Regions from separate parts of the Homo sapiens genome. Here regions 1, 2, 3, 5 and 6 are each linked to region 4. Evidence: promoter capture Hi-C in 16 types of primary human blood cells and fetal thymus (Javierre and others, 2016). All regions are on one chromosome and are shown on one strand. The core of a region is centred on a gene start or on the middle of the fragment in contact, and the rest is flanking DNA. Distances in the headings are between cores, read along the strand shown. Region 1 overlaps NUP42 (nucleoporin 42). Region 2 has its middle 3.0 kb from the start of HYCC1. Region 3 holds the start of MALSU1 (mitochondrial assembly of ribosomal large subunit 1). Region 4 holds the start of SP4 (Sp4 transcription factor). Region 5 overlaps SNHG26 (small nucleolar RNA host gene 26). Region 6 overlaps KLHL7 (kelch like family member 7).

The links. Contacts are between HindIII fragments. The CHiCAGO score rates a contact against its expected background, and 5 or more counts as called.
Region 1: a fragment that was not itself captured here is called in contact with the fragment with the promoter of SP4 in region 4 in 1 of 17 cell types (naive CD8 T cells); the score reaches 6.1 in naive CD8 T cells.
Region 2: a fragment that was not itself captured here is called in contact with the fragment with the promoter of SP4 in region 4 in 2 of 17 cell types (total CD4 T cells and naive CD8 T cells); the score reaches 6.5 in total CD4 T cells.
Region 3: the fragment with the promoter of MALSU1 here is called in contact with the fragment with the promoter of SP4 in region 4 in 2 of 17 cell types (total B cells and neutrophils); the score reaches 8.0 in total B cells.
Region 5: a contact is called between a fragment that was not itself captured here and the fragment with the promoter of SP4 in region 4, in 1 of 17 cell types (naive CD8 T cells). The highest score is 5.6, in naive CD8 T cells.
Region 6: a contact is called between a fragment that was not itself captured here and the fragment with the promoter of SP4 in region 4, in 3 of 17 cell types (total CD4 T cells, naive CD8 T cells and non-activated CD4 T cells). The highest score is 6.4, in total CD4 T cells.

Annotation. Positions count from the first base shown.
Region 1 is chr7:23,182,455-23,185,548 of GRCh38, forward strand. It overlaps NUP42 (nucleoporin 42), which reads left to right. Exons shown (of 7, transcript NM_007342.3): 2 at 2,616-2,844. Among named protein-coding and RNA genes, the nearest start is that of NUP42, 2.0 kb to the left of the region's middle. The HindIII fragment of the contact is 1,370 bases long and covers 655-2,024 here.
Region 2 is chr7:23,015,613-23,018,643 of GRCh38, forward strand. No RefSeq gene overlaps it. Among named protein-coding and RNA genes, the nearest start is that of HYCC1, 3.0 kb to the left of the region's middle. The HindIII fragment of the contact is 568 bases long and covers 1,143-1,710 here.
Region 3 is chr7:23,298,082-23,301,082 of GRCh38, forward strand. MALSU1 (mitochondrial assembly of ribosomal large subunit 1) reads left to right here and starts at 1,258. Exons shown (of 4, transcript NM_138446.2): 1 at 1,258-1,527; 2 at 2,758-2,936. The coding sequence starts at 1,272. RefSeq lists an enhancer at 1,075-1,564. The HindIII fragment of the contact is 9,022 bases long and covers 1-3,001 here.
Region 4 is chr7:21,426,591-21,429,514 of GRCh38, forward strand. SP4 (Sp4 transcription factor) reads left to right here and starts at 1,493. Exons shown (of 6, transcript NM_003112.5): 1 at 1,493-1,668; 2 at 2,087-2,202; 3 at 2,699-2,924. The coding sequence starts at 1,662. RefSeq lists silencers at 427-816, 1,197-1,786. The HindIII fragment of the contact is 8,073 bases long and covers 1-2,924 here.
Region 5 is chr7:22,858,449-22,861,386 of GRCh38, forward strand. SNHG26 (small nucleolar RNA host gene 26) reads left to right here. Exons shown (of 5, transcript NR_146320.1): 4 at 2,099-2,190; 5 at 2,438-2,938. Among named protein-coding and RNA genes, the nearest start is that of SNORD93, 3.3 kb to the left of the region's middle. RefSeq lists an enhancer at 62-1,261. The HindIII fragment of the contact is 1,561 bases long and covers 512-2,072 here.
Region 6 is chr7:23,106,659-23,109,618 of GRCh38, forward strand. The region is part of intron 1 of KLHL7 (kelch like family member 7); the gene reads left to right. Among named protein-coding and RNA genes, the nearest start is that of KLHL7, 2.4 kb to the left of the region's middle. RefSeq lists enhancers at 1-288, 1-73. The HindIII fragment of the contact is 2,615 bases long and covers 257-2,871 here.

The sequences.
Region 1 (3,094 bases), core at 90-2,589, 1.8 Mb after region 4:
TTAAATCGGAAGTACCTATCGAAACTACCTTGTAGGTAAATGCCGGAATTGAATATAATTTTTACTAAGTTGTTTTTTCGAGGGTGAGGCTAGCAGCTTGGGTCAGAATCAGGACTTCATTTTGGAGAAGTCGTGGACTTCTTTGAAAAAATCTAATAAAACCGGCCGGGCGGTGGCTCACGCCTGTAATCCCAGCACTTTGGGAGGCCGAGGCGGGCGGATCACGAGGTCAGGAGTTTGAGACCAGCCTGACCAACATAGTGAAACACCGTCTTTACTAAAAATACCAAAAAAAAAAAAAAAAAAAAAAATAGCCGGGCGTGGTGGCGCGCGCCTGTAATCCCAGCTACTCATGAGGCTGAGACAGGAGAATCGCTTGAACCCGGGAGGTGGAGGTTGCAGTGGGCCGAGATCGTGCCACTGCACTCCAGCCTGGGCGACAGAGCGAGACTATCAAAAAAAAAAAAAGAAAGAAAGAAAAGAAAAAAAGAAAATCTAATAAAACCTATAGAGCCATACCGCAAAAATGCACCTGCTCATAAATTTGGGGTGAAATTGGGAATGTGGGACGCCCAGTTAAGGGCTATCCGGGAGGTGAGGAAAGGAGATGCGGGGGCCACGTTGATCTAGTCCCTGGGCCTAGATCATTGTCAAAGCTTTTTATCTTCAAGGAAAGGAGAGATTAGACATGAAACCTTAGAACAACACAAGATTTTTAAAGATCGGGTTAATAATTCGGTGCTGTCTCCCTTCCTTCCCCTCCTTTAGGGCTATTCATCTGACCTTTATTTTTTTATTTTATTTTGAGACGGAGTCTTGCTCTCTCAGTCAGGCGGCTCACTGCGACCTCCGCCTCCCAGGCTCAAGCGATTCTTATGCCTCAGTCTCCCGAGTAGCTGGGATTACGGGTGCCCGCCACCATGCCCTTGATAATTTTTGTATTTTTAGTAGAGACAGGGTTTTGCCATTTTGGCCATACCGGTCTCGAACTCGTGACCTAAGGTGATACTCCCGCTTCCGTCTTTCAAAGTGCTGGGATTACAGGCGTGAGCGACCGCGGCGGGCCTCATCTAACCTTTAAACCTTGTATTGCGTGATGGTTTCACGTCTGATCCCACTTCAGGGAAGACAGTCCTTTTATTTCCTCCACAATTAATCTAGTGAAATATTTCAGACCGAAAATTAGGACTCATGTCTGATGAATGTGAGTGTAAACAAAATTTGGCAGACAAATTGTATTTAGCTCCCAGAAACAAATGAATGTTTCTGGAATTATAAGTATGAAGACCAAAAGCAATGTAAAAAAAAAAAAAAAAAAAAAAAAGGAGGAAGTGAGTTTCTTCAGTTGTATCATCCCCCAGTGAATTTGGAACTTTAGAAGAAGAAGATACCATTAACTTCTACTTGAGGGATCTGGTCTAGCAATCTCCACTTTTTTTTTTTTTTTTTTTAGGGTAGTTTAGAGTTGCAGGATGAACTTTCACAACTGGGCATGTGTGTCATTCTAACTTTTAATATAATTAATGGCTTATCTCTTTATTCAGTCAGAAACAAGATGAATTACCTTAATCTTGGCCCCAACTAGGAAGTGATGAGTAAATGAGATTGCTAAAATGATTTTAAAAAACAAAACAAAACCAATATATAAAGAGAGGAGAGAATCTTTTTGGCTCATTTTGATATTTATGAAATATTGGAAAGCTGGTAGAGGAACTACATGCATTCTGTACACATGTAAATACCATGTATAATCTCTCTGTGAAAATAGGTGTGTAGGTGTTTGCCCAGAGAAAAGACTGCGTCAAATAGACTTAAGCATCTGTACAAAAACAGAGGGTAGAATGTAATCTTTCATATTCGAGAAACTTTAATTCAATGTCCATTTTTCAGCCTTTACTACAGTATAGGGCCTGGTGGGGGAGCAAAGAATGATAAAAACCCAAGTTTTTATCCTGAAGGAGTTTATGATTTATGATGCATGCCTTCTGTCAACTTTTAACTATCAAGCAGTTGTTCATTTAATAAGCTTTGTCAGCTGAATTTAGTAATATATCACTATTTTTCTATATTATTTTCTTCTCAATCTCAAACAAAAATGCAATTGGCCACTATGTGATTTGTTGATATTACAACCTAACTACTGTATATAAATAAAAAATGAAGAGATTGTCATTTAAAATGAGTTTAAATGTAGTGCTTGTTGAATCTTTCTATATTGTCTAGACATACTAAGATATAATGAAGATTTTTGAGATTTTAAAGAACAGTTGCTGGGCACAGTAGCTCATGCCTATAATTCCAGCACTTTGGGAGGCTGAGGCAGGTGGATCTCTTGAGCCCAGGAGTTTGAGACCAACCCCGGGCAATATGGCAAGACCTTATCTCTACAAAAAGTACAAAAATTAGCCAGACATGGTGGTTTGCGCCTGTGGTCCCAGCTACTCAGGAGGCTGAGGTGGGAGGATCGATTGAGCTTAGGAGGTTGAGGTTACAGTGAGCCAAGATCATGCCACTGTACTCCACCCTGGGCAAAAGAGTGAGACCCTATCTCAATTAAAAAGAAAATAGAAAGAAAAGTTGCTAGTAAAATTATTTTGTTTTATTGTTTATTTTAGGTAATAATAGACGTGGATGGAATACAACTAGCCAGAGATATTCCAATGTCATCCAGCCATCCAGTTTCTCCAAATCCACACCATGGGGGGGCAGCAGAGATCAAGAAAAGCCATATTTCAGTTCTTTTGATTCTGGAGCTTCAACTAACAGGAAGGAAGGCTTTGGATTGTCTGAGAACCCATTTGCTTCACTTAGTCCTGATGAGCAGAAAGATGAAAAGAAACTTCTGTAAGTGAAAGTTTTCAGGAAAATTACTATCCATTTGCTTATGTTTTTTCACCTACAATCTTTGTTGTTTCTCTTTTTTTGTAACATCTTTTCACAATACAATATTTTCTTTAAAAAAAGAAATAATGCATTATTTTTAAATCAGAGTAGCAAAAAGAAGAAAAATCACCCACAATTCTATCACTCATAGATAGCCACTCTTTTGCTGTGTATTACCCTAGATTTTATTTCACTTAAAAATATATCATCT
Region 2 (3,031 bases), core at 177-2,676, 1.6 Mb after region 4:
ATTTATTTATTTATTTATTTATTTTTGAGACAAGGTCTCACTCTGTCACCCAAACTGGGGTAGAGTGCTTAAGTGATCCTCCCACCTCAGCCTCCCAAAGTGCTGGGATTACAGACATGAACTACCATACACGGCTGAAACTCAATTTTTAATTTTTTTTTTTTTTGGCAGAGTCTCCCTCTGTCACCCAGGCTGGAGTACAGTGGTGGGATCTTACCTCACTGCACTTCCACTTCCCAGGTTCAAGCAATTCTCCTGCCTCAGCCTCCTGAGTAGCTGGGGTTACATGAACTCACCACCACACCCAGCTAATTTTTGTATTTTTTGTAGAGACAGGGGTTCACCATGTTGGCCAGGCTGGTCTCGAACTCCTGACCTCAGGTGCTCCACCCACCTCAGCCTCCCAAAGTGCTGGGATTACAGGTGTGAACCACCATGTCTGGCATTAATTTTTAATTTTAACTTTAACAACTCCCATATTGGATAGCTCAGGTTTAGATTTTCTTCTTAAGGCAATGAGGGACAGACAACAGCTTTTAATCATGTGGACAATGCAATCAGGTTTCTTTTAAATGGTGAGAATCCAAAGAAAAAAAAACAGGGTAGAGAGGAAATTCTTGACAGATCAGACTGACTTAATTTAGGTCCCCTTGGCCAGAGCCTGTTCAGGACAAGTGTTTACTCAAAGAAATAGGGAGAGGAAGATCCAGGCAGCATGTTATTCATCTTAGAGAACACAAGCAGTCAAAACCTGAGACGTTGAATTCTGCCGTCAAGTCCCATTGAGTAGGAGAGTGAGGGACCAAGGAAGGAAAGAAACCGAGTCAGCCAGATCATAAGATAGAGAGAAACAAGAGTGGGCAAAAGAGTGCACACCTACGCGCATGCACACACACACACACACACACACACACACCATCAGTTTTACTGGCCATTGGCCATGTGTGCCAGTAATGTGTTGACCTGATTTGAAGAGCCAAAGTTTCTGGTGGCAGGAAGCCCAGCCAAGACCAGGACAAGATTCCAGGAGAGAATCTCGAACCAAACCTGTGGAAGTCAGGATGGAAGGGACAGGTAAATATTATTGACTTCCTGTACTGTACAAGGCACGTGGCTTGTCAAGGATACAGATGAATGCTAGAAGCTTGCTTATAGTATAGTTAGCTGCATAACAAACAGATGAAAGGTTAAGCAAAGATTAAAGTAATTATTTAATGCAGCAGTGGAGAGATTACATAAGGCAGTACATAATCGATTCATTGTTCAAATGATTTTCTAGGCATTAGCCGCTGTGTTTTCAGAGGAGGATGCAAGCACTGCAGTCAAGGGCAGTCAGGGAAGGCTTCATGAAAAAGGCAAAATGGGCTGGGTCTAGAAAACTGGGGAGGAATTTGAACCAGATAAAATGGTGAGAAAGTAACTCCCAGAATGCCTGGAGAAATAACACAAGAGGGGAAGCACAAGCAATGTTCAGAGGGCATGGGAGGCAACTTGAGTCAGCCAAGCCTGGCAAGCTAGGTTGCAGATAGATAATAGAACACCTTGAAGGCAAGCTCAGTTGTTCAGATTTTCTCCTTTTGCCTTGTGGCTTCCTGTCTGCTCATTAGAATCACTTAGGATGCCTTTCAAAATTATCAGTACTCAAACCGCACCCCACAGTAAATAAATAAATAAATTGGTGTGTGAGGCTAGTCATTGGGTTTTTAAAAAAGCTTCCCAAGTGGTTCTAATATACACCCAAGGTTGACAAAAGGGAAATAATATAACATGTTACTAGTGCCAAATCAGTGCCGTGCATAGGATAGATTGAGTGGAGAGAAACTGAAGTTTGGCTATGTATATTTATATATAATTTGTTTCCTTCCTGCAAGAAGACAGGAAGCAGTTTACTGCCTGACTTCACTTCCCATTTTGCAGTGGTAAGGTAGTATAGAAGGCAATTTAAGTTGTCTTCCCTCTAAGTCAGAGTAAAACGAAAGCACAAATTTATGTTTCCAGTCTACTCTCCTTTCCATCACAATTTGTGCATATAAAAATAATTTCCAACAATAACAGTCTGCAGTTAAGTTTTACACATAGCCGTTTATATTTTAATCGCAAAGCACCAGAAAAAATGCCTAAGAGAACATTCTGTTTCAAAAGGAAAATGCTTTTAACCTACTTTATAAAAGTCAACATATTCCAGATCTTTCCTGCTCATCTTTGCTAGTCTCTGATATCCACACGCATAATTCTAAAGTAACTATTAAAATGCATTTATCTTCTTGCAAATAACTGTATAAAAGTGCCAGTTGAACATTATAAACATAAACATTTTCCCTATGACATTAAATTTCAGGAATTTTAAGAAAAATTTAGTTCAAATATCTTTCTCTTTTTTTCTTTTTCTTTTCCTTTCTTTGTTTCGTTTTGTTTTTGAGACAGAGTCTGATTCTGTCACCCAGGCTGGAGTGCAGTGGCACCATCTTAGCTCACTGCAACCTCCACCTCCTGGGTTCAAGCGATTCTCGTACCTTAGCCTCCTGACTTGCTGGGGCTACAGGTGTGTGCCACCGTGCCTGGTTAATTTTTGTATTTTTTTGGTAGAAACATGGTTTCACCATGTTGGCCAGGCTGGTCTCGAACTCTTGGCCTCAAGTGATCTGCCCACTTTGGCCTCCCACAGTGCTATGATTATAGGTATGAGCCACCATGCCCGGCCTAGTTCAAATATTATATATTTCTATTAAAGTCAATTGGACAACAACTGTTGTTAAAATGGTTAAAATAGATAACATGATTATTTTAAATTAAAAAGAATTTTGTTTAAAAAAACATGAAAAATATGTCAAAATGTTGCTTTTGTGGTATGTTAAACATTCTTTAAGAAAAAAGAAAATCAAAGAAATGAAGTCAAAACAAAAAGAGTGTGCCTGAGAGGTCATTCAAGGGCTTGCTATATCAGATTCCCTTTTTAAGGGAACTACCCCAGCCAGTGGACCCAGCTGAGGCAGCAACCTGAGCCATGATCTATACCATACAACCCCCTTCA
Region 3 (3,001 bases), core at 8-2,507, 1.9 Mb after region 4:
AACAGATTCGTTTGTTGTATGAAGATCCTGGACTGAATGAAGTCTAGGGTTTGGGAGTTTTGAAGGGATAATGACCCATTAAATGAGCTGGCAAATACAGGTGGTAAAGCAGGTCTGGGATGTTCAGAGAAGGGTGGGAACACGGAATGGATGCCAGAAGCTGGGAGAAAAGCCAAGTTCATGCCTGTGGAAAAATGGAATTGAGGATGGGGCTAAAATTGGACAGAGGAAACTTAATCTGTAATGTTTTTCTTCTTTTCAAAAATAACTTGAAGTGGTTGTACATATCTGGTGTGATATACACAAATGCTTAATTTCTCTATTTTTAAAAAACTTCCCAAAATTAGTGCTTGGAATTATTTAAAATAATGTAGCAAACATTTTTGGAGTGCCTGCTATGTGTCTGGCACTGTTTCAGGCATTTGAAATATTTGCTCTCTATGAAGCCTTCCTTTCAGCAGTTAGCAGGCCTGGAGTTCAGAAGCCAGAAACTGGCTTCTGATTCTGACGCAGTCAGTAAGTGTATGACCTGGGCAAGTTGCTTCCCTGCGGCGTCCCACGCCCCCAAAACCCCCCACCCCCCCACCCGTGCCAGGAATCTATCGCAGTTCTCAAGTCCTGTGACTTAATACCGCAGCTGGCACCTCAGAATTCCTTATTCTTACAGAGCTGGTCCCCACAGTACCGCCCCTGGGCGTAAACTCCTCCATACAGGGAGTGTAGATGATGGGCTGACCTAAGAACGGTTTCCAAATGGTCCTTTACACCTCTGCCTCCCACCCCACTCTAGCCCAGGATAACAGATTTTCCTCGCGCAATTTCAAATTTGCAAGGGAATCTTGAATATTTTCTGGTAATGAGAGAGGGTAGATTATATGTCCTAATCCCAGCCTAATCAGATTAACAGCAACTTCTGGACATTCAGTACCAGGAACTGTTTTAGGTGCTGTGGAGAGAAGAGTTAAAAATGAAACAAAAATTATTGCCTTCATGAGCCTCACATTAGTGGACAGAGTCCAAAAAAAAAGTGACAACGTAATGCGCTACTGCGACACAAAGCAAAGCAAGGTGGGCAAGCAACACTAGTTCTTTATTCCCGCACGCCCTAATCCCCAAGTAGCTCTTCCGGGTCACTGCAGTCTTCACGGGCTCCAGACTCCGCCCATGGTCCGTCCTTCAGGCCTTGACTCCGCCCACGCATCGACGTAGAATTTCCCGGCCGGGCTCCATGAAGTACCACCCACCCGCGACGCCGACGCAAGGCTGCTGCTATGGGGCCGGGCGGCCGTGTGGCGCGGCTGCTCGCCCCACTAATGTGGCGCAGGGCGGTTTCCTCGGTGGCGGGGTCCGCGGTTGGAGCCGAGCCCGGGCTTCGGCTGCTGGCCGTGCAGCGGCTTCCCGTAGGAGCAGCGTTCTGCCGGGCTTGCCAGACCCCAAACTTTGTCCGCGGCCTGCACAGCGAGCCTGGGCTGGAGGAGCGGGCGGAGGGGACGGTCAACGAGGGACGCCCAGAATCGGACGCGGCAGGTACGGGCGTGGAGAAGAACGAAGGCGACCCTCTCCGGGCAGTCTGGAGTCAGGTCCCAGCCAAGGTGGCTCTGGGTTCCCCTCTATGTGCATTTCTCTTGGAGTCACAAAACTCCTGCACATCCAGAGCTGGAAGGGACTTCAAAGGTTGTTGGCGCCAACCTTCCCGTTTCACAGTGAAGAAATTGAGGGCAAGAGATGAACTGCAGAATCCCAGCCTCCCGGACGGCCATCTCCCACCCTTGGCATCACAGTCTCACCGTCCTCACTTCCTTTTACCCTCTTCCTAGGATCCTGGGAAATGGGTTTGTGGGGACTGTTGGGGCTTGAGGATTCTGAGGAGCCAGGGTCTGGGTGCGAAGGGGTGCGTAGGAAGCGCCAGTAGGAGATGGGTCCAAGTTAATATCCTCTAGTTATTGCTGACGTTTTTAGAAACTTAAGAATGGTAAACAGATCACATCTAAGAATGTAGAGTATGAGAGGGAGAGGCCTTAGTGGGCTTAGCTACTAGGTCCTTTGGAGTCGGCTTTAGAACTTGGGCGAGCTTTTAAATTTACAGCCTGTAATACTCCAAGCTGAAGATCAGAATATCTAAATCTTTACGGGAAAAAAAATTAGATTTTCATAGGTAACAGTTGTTAATAACCCGGTGGTTTTATATGAAAACTGGAAGGTTCAAAATAATAATTACTCAAAAATGTAGCTCTTTCAGTGACTGATCTTAGGCCACAGTAATTCTCCTAGGCCTCAGTTTCTTCATCTCTCAACTGAAGGTTGTGGACCAGATACTGCCTAAGAGCCCTTCCAGCTCACAATTCTGTGACCCGTTATGACTGAGATTCAATTTAATATGCTCCAGGATATCACCTCCTACCCATTTTGTGGTGCTGTTTTTCTTTGCACAGCATTTCTGTGATTGTGGTGTATTGCTCCTTTTAAGTATTAGTAGAAAGTCATTTGTCACTGGTGTCTGGTTCTACTTGCATATGGTTAATAGCGAAGGATGTATAGTGGCTCTGCGTAATCTGAGCACCCTGACCATAAAAGTTGAGCGGTGCTATGATACTACTGCCCAGGTTCACCTTCCAGGAGGCCTTTACCCTGCTATCTGTAAAAACACTTTGGATCTAAACACCCTCATGGAGGAACAGTCAGCTGCCGGCATCTCTGGGTGCATACACGTCTATCTGCTTGGCCATCCTGATACAAACAACTATTTGTGCATTTCAGATCATACTGGTCCCAAGTTTGACATCGATATGATGGTTTCACTTCTGAGGCAAGAAAATGCAAGAGACATTTGTGTGATCCAGGTTCCTCCAGAAATGAGATATACAGATTACTTTGTGATTGTTAGTGGAACTTCTACCCGACACTTACATGCCATGGCCTTCTACGTTGTGAAAATGGTAGGATGCTTTCTTTTCTCTTTTGGACCATTAACTGAGTGGAATAGTGACAGTGCATCAGGCCA
Region 4 (2,924 bases), core at 243-2,742:
GGGTCACTTCCACCTTTGGTACAGTTAATCAGGCGCTGATTACGTTCCATGGCATCATCCTGACTTCAGGACTTTGTAGGAAAGCTGAGGCAGGACACTGCTCAAGTGCATTTGACAGTAAGATGCTTTGTGCAGCCAGATGTTAATTCCACTTGCCCTTACGCTTGCTTACGCTACACCGTAAGCGGGGCTGACCCTTATGGAGCTGGGCTTTTCTTCGCCCGGAGACTCTTGTCAGATAAGGCTTAGAACTCCGCCAACCACTTAGGCTTTTAGGCAAAACGCGATGCAACCCTTCTTAGAAGGCGGGTCACTGCTCTGCACCAGCTGCCAGCCAGAGAGACAACAAATAAAAATGGAAGATCCTTCTCCGTGAGAAAACAGGCCTCGGACTCAAAGCAGGGGGCCTGAGGGGAAGGTGAGCAAAGAAAGGCAAGGCGAGGGCGCTGCTTCAAGAAGCCGGGTTCATTCAAACCCCGAGGACAGCAAACCCCGCCTCCCCACGCCGCCGCCCGCTCAATCGCCGAGCGCTCCGGGTGTGAGCTCGCCCCGCGGGGAGCGGCTTGGAGCCGAGGAGGCGGCGGCAGAGGTGGTTTGGGCAGCCCCGCGCGGCGGATAGGCCCAGGCAAACAACACCCATTCCCCCTCCTCCTCGCTCAGTTCAACTCCCACTCGGCCCCGGCCACGCCCTGCCGCCACCGCCCCCTCGGGCAGCTTTCCGCTCGGCAGCCAGGCCTCGGTCGGGGGCGGGAGAGAGGCGGTGCCTCGAAGAAGGCACCGCGACCGCCGGAAACTACGAGTACCGACAGCCTTCGCGGTAGTGCCCCACCCCCTTTCTCCCACCACTCAGCGCGCGTCACCCTGGGCTCAGCCAATGGAGACAGAGCCAGGGAAAAAGGGCGCCCGGGTCCGGATGCGCCTCAGGAAAGCCATGCTCCCTGCGCGGGGGCAGCGGGCAGTTCACCCAGCGCGCCGACCTGTTGGTGGTCCGCGCGCGCCCACGTCCGCCGCTCTCGCTTGCCTGGATCAAGGGCCCTACTTTTTTCTTTAGTGGCAATTGGAGGGATTGCTGGAGGGGGTTTTTGAGTGGAGGGCGCTGGGAAATGAGTAGGGGGCGGGATATCCTGAGACAACAAGTTTGGCTGTATGGAGGGCCTACCGGCAGCGCTCCTGAGCTAGAACGCCGAGAGAAAGAGCGCCAGAGGAGCCAGGGAGGAGGAGAAGAGCTGCTAAAGGAATAACCCCGAGAAAGGGGGTGGAGAGGAGGCGGCCCCAGCGCCCCGGCCCCCGGCAGGTCGGCGGCCAATCCGCTGGGGGAAGGGGTGGAGAGTCGGAGGCTCCGGCGGAGAGAGGCCGAGGGGGGTGGGGAGTCGGCCAGGCTCGCACCGCCCTGGCCCCGCCCCCGACCCGCGCCGCCGCCCGCGCCGCGCGCCGCCGCTGTCAATCAAGGGCGAGTCAGCCGGGCTCGGGCGGAGAGAGGAGCTGCTACGCCACAGCCCAGCGGCGGCCATTCGCGGAAAAAGAGGCAGAGCCTGTGCCAGCTACAGCCTCCTCCGAGCCACCGCGGGCGGGCGGGACCGGCCTCTCCTCCCGCCTCGCCCCCACCCCCACCCACCTCTATCCCAGTGTCTCCGTCTGAGGGTTTGTCCTGTTAATGCGGGATGAGCGGTACGTATTCTCCACCCCCCTCAGTCTCCTTCGCCGCCTCCCTCTCTCCCTCCCTCCCCAGACCCTGCTCGGTTCTCCCCCCTCCCCCGGGGCCGCTGAGATGCTTTAAGGGGAGGAGGAGAGGGCGGGAGGGAATCGGGGAGGGAAGGAGGGTTGTGTTTTGTCTTAATGTCTGAGAGAGAACAACCTCCTTCTGGGTGTTGCTCTGGAGCCGATGGGTCGGGTTTCAAACCACGTTTTGTGATATCCCCCTCCTCCCTTCCCTCCTTCTCCCCCACCCCCTGCCGGTGTGCGTGGATCGCGGGTTTATGGAGATTAATGTTCGGGGGGAGGGGGGAGAAGAGGAGAGGAAGAAGACGAATAATAATAATCCTAATAACCTGTTGTCGTGTGTGTGTGGTGGGGGGGTTTGTTGCAGATCAGAAGAAGGAGGAGGAGGAGGAGGCGGCAGCGGCAGCGGCGATGGCTACAGAAGGAGGGAAAACCTCTGAGCCAGAGAATAACAATAAAAAACCCAAAACCTCAGGCTCCCAGGTAAAAGCAAACAAATTAAAAAAATTCATCACGACACATTAGGAGAGAGAGGGAGTTATGCCCTTTGAATGTCCAGAAGTAACAGAATAAAATGTTTATCCACTCAAAGCATCTTTCTGAGAGTGTGGAACTTAAATTGTAAATTCATCAAGTTTTCACCTCTTTGAGGGTATAACGCTGTTTAAAATTACATCAGGAATTCAGACTATAAGAAAACGGTGTGTGTGTTCCCAAGGGCATTTTGAGTTTAGGAACATAACACTTTACAAAGTTGTAAAGAAATTTCCTTTTATTTAAACTTGATATTATAGGACTTGCTTCCTTATTCATATAGTTCTTATCTACTTTTGTTCGTATTTCTTTTTGATTTCTGCTGCTTCCTAAATTGTTATGTAGAGCTGTCAAAATAAGTAACCCCCTGGCAACTACTGGCCTCCACTAAATCCGCCCACTTTTTTTCCCCCCCCCCTCTCCTTTACCGTCCCATTTTGGGTAGGACTCTCAGCCCTCTCCTCTGGCTTTACTGGCAGCTACTTGCAGCAAAATAGGGACTCCTGGTGAAAATCAAGCAACTGGACAACAACAAATTATTATAGATCCAAGTCAAGGATTGGTGCAACTTCAAAATCAACCACAACAGCTAGAACTGGTAACAACGCAACTTGCTGGAAACGCTTGGCAACTTGTTGCCTCCACTCCTCCTGCTTCAAAAGAGAATAACG
Region 5 (2,938 bases), core at 42-2,541, 1.4 Mb after region 4:
CTGCATCTTGATTATGGTATGACTGTGCGTTTGTCAAACCTTAACAGGATGAATTTTGCTGAATGTAAAATCATACTTCAATAAACATGACTTTAAAAACTTAACCCTCCTTGGCATTTCAGTGGTGTTTCCAGTGAAATCTATGGCAAGATGGTTTGGGGTCACTATCTACATGAACTGCCAAGTTGGAAAATCAAAAATACATCAAAATCACTCTTGGGACATAAGTCACGGAAGTGACTCATGCACACAATAAATACCCAAGAAGCAGGACCAGACGGCAGTTGTGTATTGGCACGCTCATCAGTGCTGCAAAAATTCCCCTTCTGGATGGCAACAACAATGCTGTATCCACAGCAGCATTTTAAATCTCACCTCTGATGTATCCATTGTTGTGGGCATGAGATGGCAGAAAGTGGGATATGGAAAATGTTGCCGTGCGCCATTCCGAATACTACTGTGGCTTCCCTGCAGCATTACTTTCCATATTGGCTGTTTTCCATTTCAGGAAAGCTTAGGATGTCCTTGGTAAATACTGGCTAACCAAGAAATTTGAAAAATGAAAGGAGGCTGAGTAATTGGTCTTGGGTTGAAACGGGGTGATGCTGCATAAACTACGTGGTTGACTCTGAAAAGCTGGCTAAAAAGCCAGTCTGCATTCCTTGTCCTCATTTCCTTGGAGTAATGAAGGGTGCTTCTTAGAAGAGGGATAGATTCAAGTATGGGTTGTGAGTCATTCTTCTTTTCTGTATGTAATAGGTCTAACCACAGGGCCTGTTGAGCCCTGCCCTGGTGACCAAGAGCATTTTCTGACATGAACAGAGTTAGGCCATCTTGCCCGTATGAGCAGAGTTCTTCAGATGTCCCTTAGGATTCTAGGTTTCATACCTTCCCTGCCACTCCCCCACTACCAAATCCCCTTACCCTATAGCCTAGCAATGCAGAGTTGTCCAATATAGAACCTCTGTTAAACATAGCATCACCCAGGAAAATGGGATGAGTGGTTGCAGTCAGTACCACAGTTCTGCAGAATCAACTTGCTTACCTTAGTACATTGCCTGTCTACGTGTTTAGCAGAGCTAAAAGCAGGAATGGACTGTTAAACTACCATCCTTTTGTGCTCAAGTGCCATGAAGAGAAGCAAACCTGGAGTTGAAAGTTTTCAAAGAGGGCTTCCAAGTGAGGAACTTGGGCATGTGAATCTTTAATTATGACTATAAAAGAAATTGTGATTGGAAATAGAATTTTTATGCTAGTGGTTATGATTTCATTGAAAATAGGAAATCTTATTTAAGAACTCTGGTCACAAAACCTCCCCAGATAGTGACGTAAATAAGACCCAGTGTAACAACTGTGGCATTGACATGTCAGTTCATGTAGATTGAGTCACAATTTGATTTCGAGAATGGCCATATCCCATTTTGTCTTACTCCATGGTGTTCCTGAGCACTTGGATACAAATAGATTCTGTTTCCTAAAAGTAGCCAAATCTTTGTAGTTCAAGTGAATATTCCAGACTAAAATATGTGTCTTTTTGAAGGTCCTTAAGCCTTACATACTTAATTGTGTAATTTGGCAAATATTTGCTGTTGTGTTGTGTCAAGTCCTGTGATAGAGACAGTTCCTACCTTTCTGGAGCTTTCACAGTGTGACTCATTTCAGTACGTAAGTCGGAGCCAGTTTTAATAGAATGTTCTCTGGTTGACTTCTGTTGTAAGGAATAATTTCATTTCATGTCTGGGTCAATATGTGAAAGATTAAATTATTAGGGCAAACTGAAAAAAAAAATCTAGTTTTACCCCCCCACCACCACATTCCCAAAATAATTTAGCATGGTTTATAACAAATATCAAGCAACAATAATTAGAAGCAGATAAAAGCTCAGCAAGTAGAGGGCAAGAATAAAAAACCTAACTGTTAGATCTCATGCTGTAGGCTCCAGCCAAGTTGTCTCTGAGCTTCCTAAGAGCAAAGAGCCAACTGGCAAGTTAGTAATCAGGCAATTGCCATAATTTTCTAATGGAGGAGGGGAGTGGTCATGTGCATTCTAAGCTCTTTAAAGCCGAGGAGTAAGCTTTCTTTCCTTCATGATCTCAAGTACTCTACTTTGAAGAAAGGAATGGAACAGAAGGTGTCTGCATAACTAAATGGGGATCTAGAGAAAGTGGAGACTGCCTCTGGAGCAGGGAGGTGAGTGGACCAGATCACTGTGGGCCTGGGCCTACTCAGCTGATTTTCAAGCTAAAACCAGGGGTAACTTTTCCTCTTGAGACGAAAGCCATGCTCACATTCTGTGAACAGCCAGAGATGTGTTCGAAAGGCTTACTTTTATTTTGTACTAGAAAAGATTGTCTTTCCAAAATTTACCTCGTATTCATAAACTGGAAAGTTCTGATGGCAATATTTTGTTACAAAATTGTCATTAATCACAATCCAGGATTATGCCACCATGACTAGAAGGCCCCCTAATGGAGTTTATCTGCACTGCAAGGGGCCAGTTGTCTCAGAATCATCCTCCGTTGACATCTCCATCTCCAGGACAGCTCCACACTAATCTGTTTCAAAGACAAAATCCAGTCTAATCAGTTTGATGTATGTTTCTGGGAATAGAGCCGAATGTTGTAGCTGATGGAATGGAGTCTCATACCATTGATTTTGCAGCTGGACAAGTGCCCTGCCATGTTACTGCCACTCTTTAAGGCAGAATAGAGCACATTGTATCATTTATAGGCCTCTCACAGTGAGAAATATGTGGAACTTTGGAAATCAGAATCTAAAACTGCAGTCCAATGGGGTAGCCACTATTCACATGTGCTATTGAGTACCTAAAATGTGGCTAGACCAAGTTGACATGTGCTGAAGGGTGAAAAACACCAGGAGTGAAGAATTAACTTGAAAAAAATGTAAACTATCTCAATTTTATATTGATTACAAATTA
Region 6 (2,960 bases), core at 314-2,813, 1.7 Mb after region 4:
TTAGAGCAGAAGCAGCCATCGATAAATACCATGCCATCTTCTAAGGGCACTGTGCGCCTCTGTTATTAAGAGGAGCTCTTTGTTCTGTCCTTGGTGTGTGGTGCATTCGTGAAATTCTGCAGCACATCGGCGAAAGGTGGGTTATGAAAAGAACGGATTTTAACGCTGGCGAAGGTGAAACAAAGAGGCTTTTTTTTTTTTTAATTCCATAACATCTACACCGATAAGCATAGAAAGTCACTTTTTCCTTTCTGTAAGCTTTATTTATAGATAATACACATCTAAGTAGATTTGTGGGAATGTTTGGGTTTTGTTGACTGGGATCCTGTTTCAAGGGGACAAAGCAGGATGTGAGTTATGTGTAACTGCAAAACCTAGTTTGCTTTGTCTGGTGGTTCTGCTGGGAATATGGGCAACAGTAGAGGAATTTAAGATTTTTATGAAGATATTAACTTCTGGTTTCTATAAGCAAACGCTGACTGCTGGGATTTTGTCTTTGTTCACCAGCTCCTGCTACAGTGCACCAGTGCAGTCTGTGGGAATGCTTTTAAATCTTTCCTGGCCTGGCCTTTGTGCTGAAGTACTGTGAATGCCTGAATTCGTTAATTTATGTAACTGACTTTCATGTATCTATTTTCAAATTCATGTTCCTTTCATGTAAACCTTTTTGTATCTACAATACCACAGACTTCAAATTGCTGGTGCATTTAGCTATTGCCTGCCTGTAATGGTAGTTGAACATAGTTAACCAGGGCTTAAACTCGTTGAAGACTCATTAGGTTCCCTCCCACTCCCTCGAATATATGTTTTCATTCGTGGATCATAGCATTGTAAAGCATTGCCTTAATCCCTAAATAGGGTGAAACTGGATTGCAGCAGCAAATATTTACTTGAGGAGCAGAGGATTATCTGAGACTGTCCGTTTAGCTCTTTGGATTTAAAAAGTGACTCACATTTCTTAGCTTTGGAGTATATTAACATCACTTATTTACCGTTACAATAGAAGTACAATTACTGAAAAATCAGGGTTCTGTTACTGAGTAGGAAGGAAAAAATGGTTACCTGGTGAACAACCAGGGGTCCCCTCCACAATGATTAACTGACCTTAATCTGCCAGGTTCTCCTGTTGTCAGTGGTTTGGCATGTGATTCAAACAGTTCTCCAATAGCACTTTTATCAACTTCATGGAATCATGCATCTTTTGCAAGATGTGCAGTTTCACTTCGCAATTGATTTACATTATGGTTATATTGTATTGTCCTGTTTAACATCATAACACAGGAAACAATTGACCGAGAATGACTGACAAGGGCAGTTGATGGGAATTGGCAGAAACAGTGGCTGGTCTGAGCCAGAGTAGGAATGTTTGAGTGAGGACCAACTTTATAAGTGCTCTTGTTCTTTAGTAAATATTTTTGTGTTATGACTACTTTTACATCCCTTTACAATCTCATTGCTTTAAGGATCAGGATAATGAGTGCCTAGATGACAAGGACCCCTCTGTAAACATCCAGAAACATTCCTTCAAGAATTTGAGAACATTGTGAGATTAGCATACCTCAGTTCCAATCCTGCTCTCTCATTATTTCATTTTGTTATTTTAGATAACATGATTTGGGTCATTCCATCTCTCTGTAGTATAGTGGCCGATTCTATACATAGAGGCAAAAGGGGATTCTGCAGAGCCAGCAGCCTCGGCTTCTTCTAAAGCCTTTTCCTACATTGTTTTTGTCATTTCTAGCCTTTTGTTTCTAAGTAAACTCTCCAGTGAAGTATGGGATACATATAAGAGGGCACAAATCATAAATGTATAGCTCAATTATTACAAAGTGCACATCCCACCAACAAGACGAGAACATGACCAGTACACCAGAGGTCCCCCCTTATGCCCTTCTCAGTCACCAACCCCACAGTAGTAACAACTATTCTAACTCTGTAACCATCGAAGTTAGAGCAGAAGCAACCATTGATAAATACCATGCCATGCCATCTTCTAAGGGCACTATGCACCCCTGTTATTAAGAGGAGCTCTTTGTTCTGTCTTTGGTGTGTGGTGCATTCATGAAAGTCTGCAGCACATCGGCAAAAAGTGGGTTTTTCCTGTGTTTGAACTTATATAAATGTAATCATATGGCATAAACTCTTGTGTTTTGTTTTCTTAAAGCCAACATTGTTTGTGAGATTCATCTGTGCTGTGTGTAGCGCTACTTCATCCTTGTGGTATATAGTATCCCATTGAATGAATATAGCACAATTTATCCATTCTATCATTATGAACATTTGGGTTATTTCTAGTTTGGAACTATTAAGACTAGTACTACTTTGAACATTTTTGTACACTTTGTACATGCCTTTTGGTATGCATATGTATGTATTAATATTTGTGTTGGGAAATACCAAACAGGAATTTTTGAGTCATAAGCTATACCACCTTCAGCTTTAAAAGATATCGTCGTGTAGTTTTCCAAAGTGATTGTACCATGTTACGCTTCTGCCAGTTGTGTGTGAGAGAGGTTTTTGCTCCGCATCCCTGCCATCACTTGATGTTGTCAGTCTTATCACTTTAGCCATTCTAACTGGGTGTATAGGAGCATCTTATTTAATTGGATTGAGTACCTTTTCATTTATTTCTTTAACTTTTTGCTTAGATTAATGTTATTACCTGATATGTAAAATAGAGGCTTTACAAGGCAGGTCTGGGTCACAGTCACTATTGCACATGCACATTGCTGTTGCCATACTCTTCTTTTGTGTTAATGAAGTCCAGGAGTCTCTTAACATTGGAGGAAGATGTTTTAAGACCTTCCTGAGTACCACCATAGTTTATAGTTTCTCCACATTAAATGAATTAAAGCATAACTGGAACTTGAAAGCTTATGTTAAAGTCCTTATTGAGAGTTATGTGAGAGAACTACAAAGCTGATTTCACAATTAGATACTGGGCAGTTAACTGGGCTCAC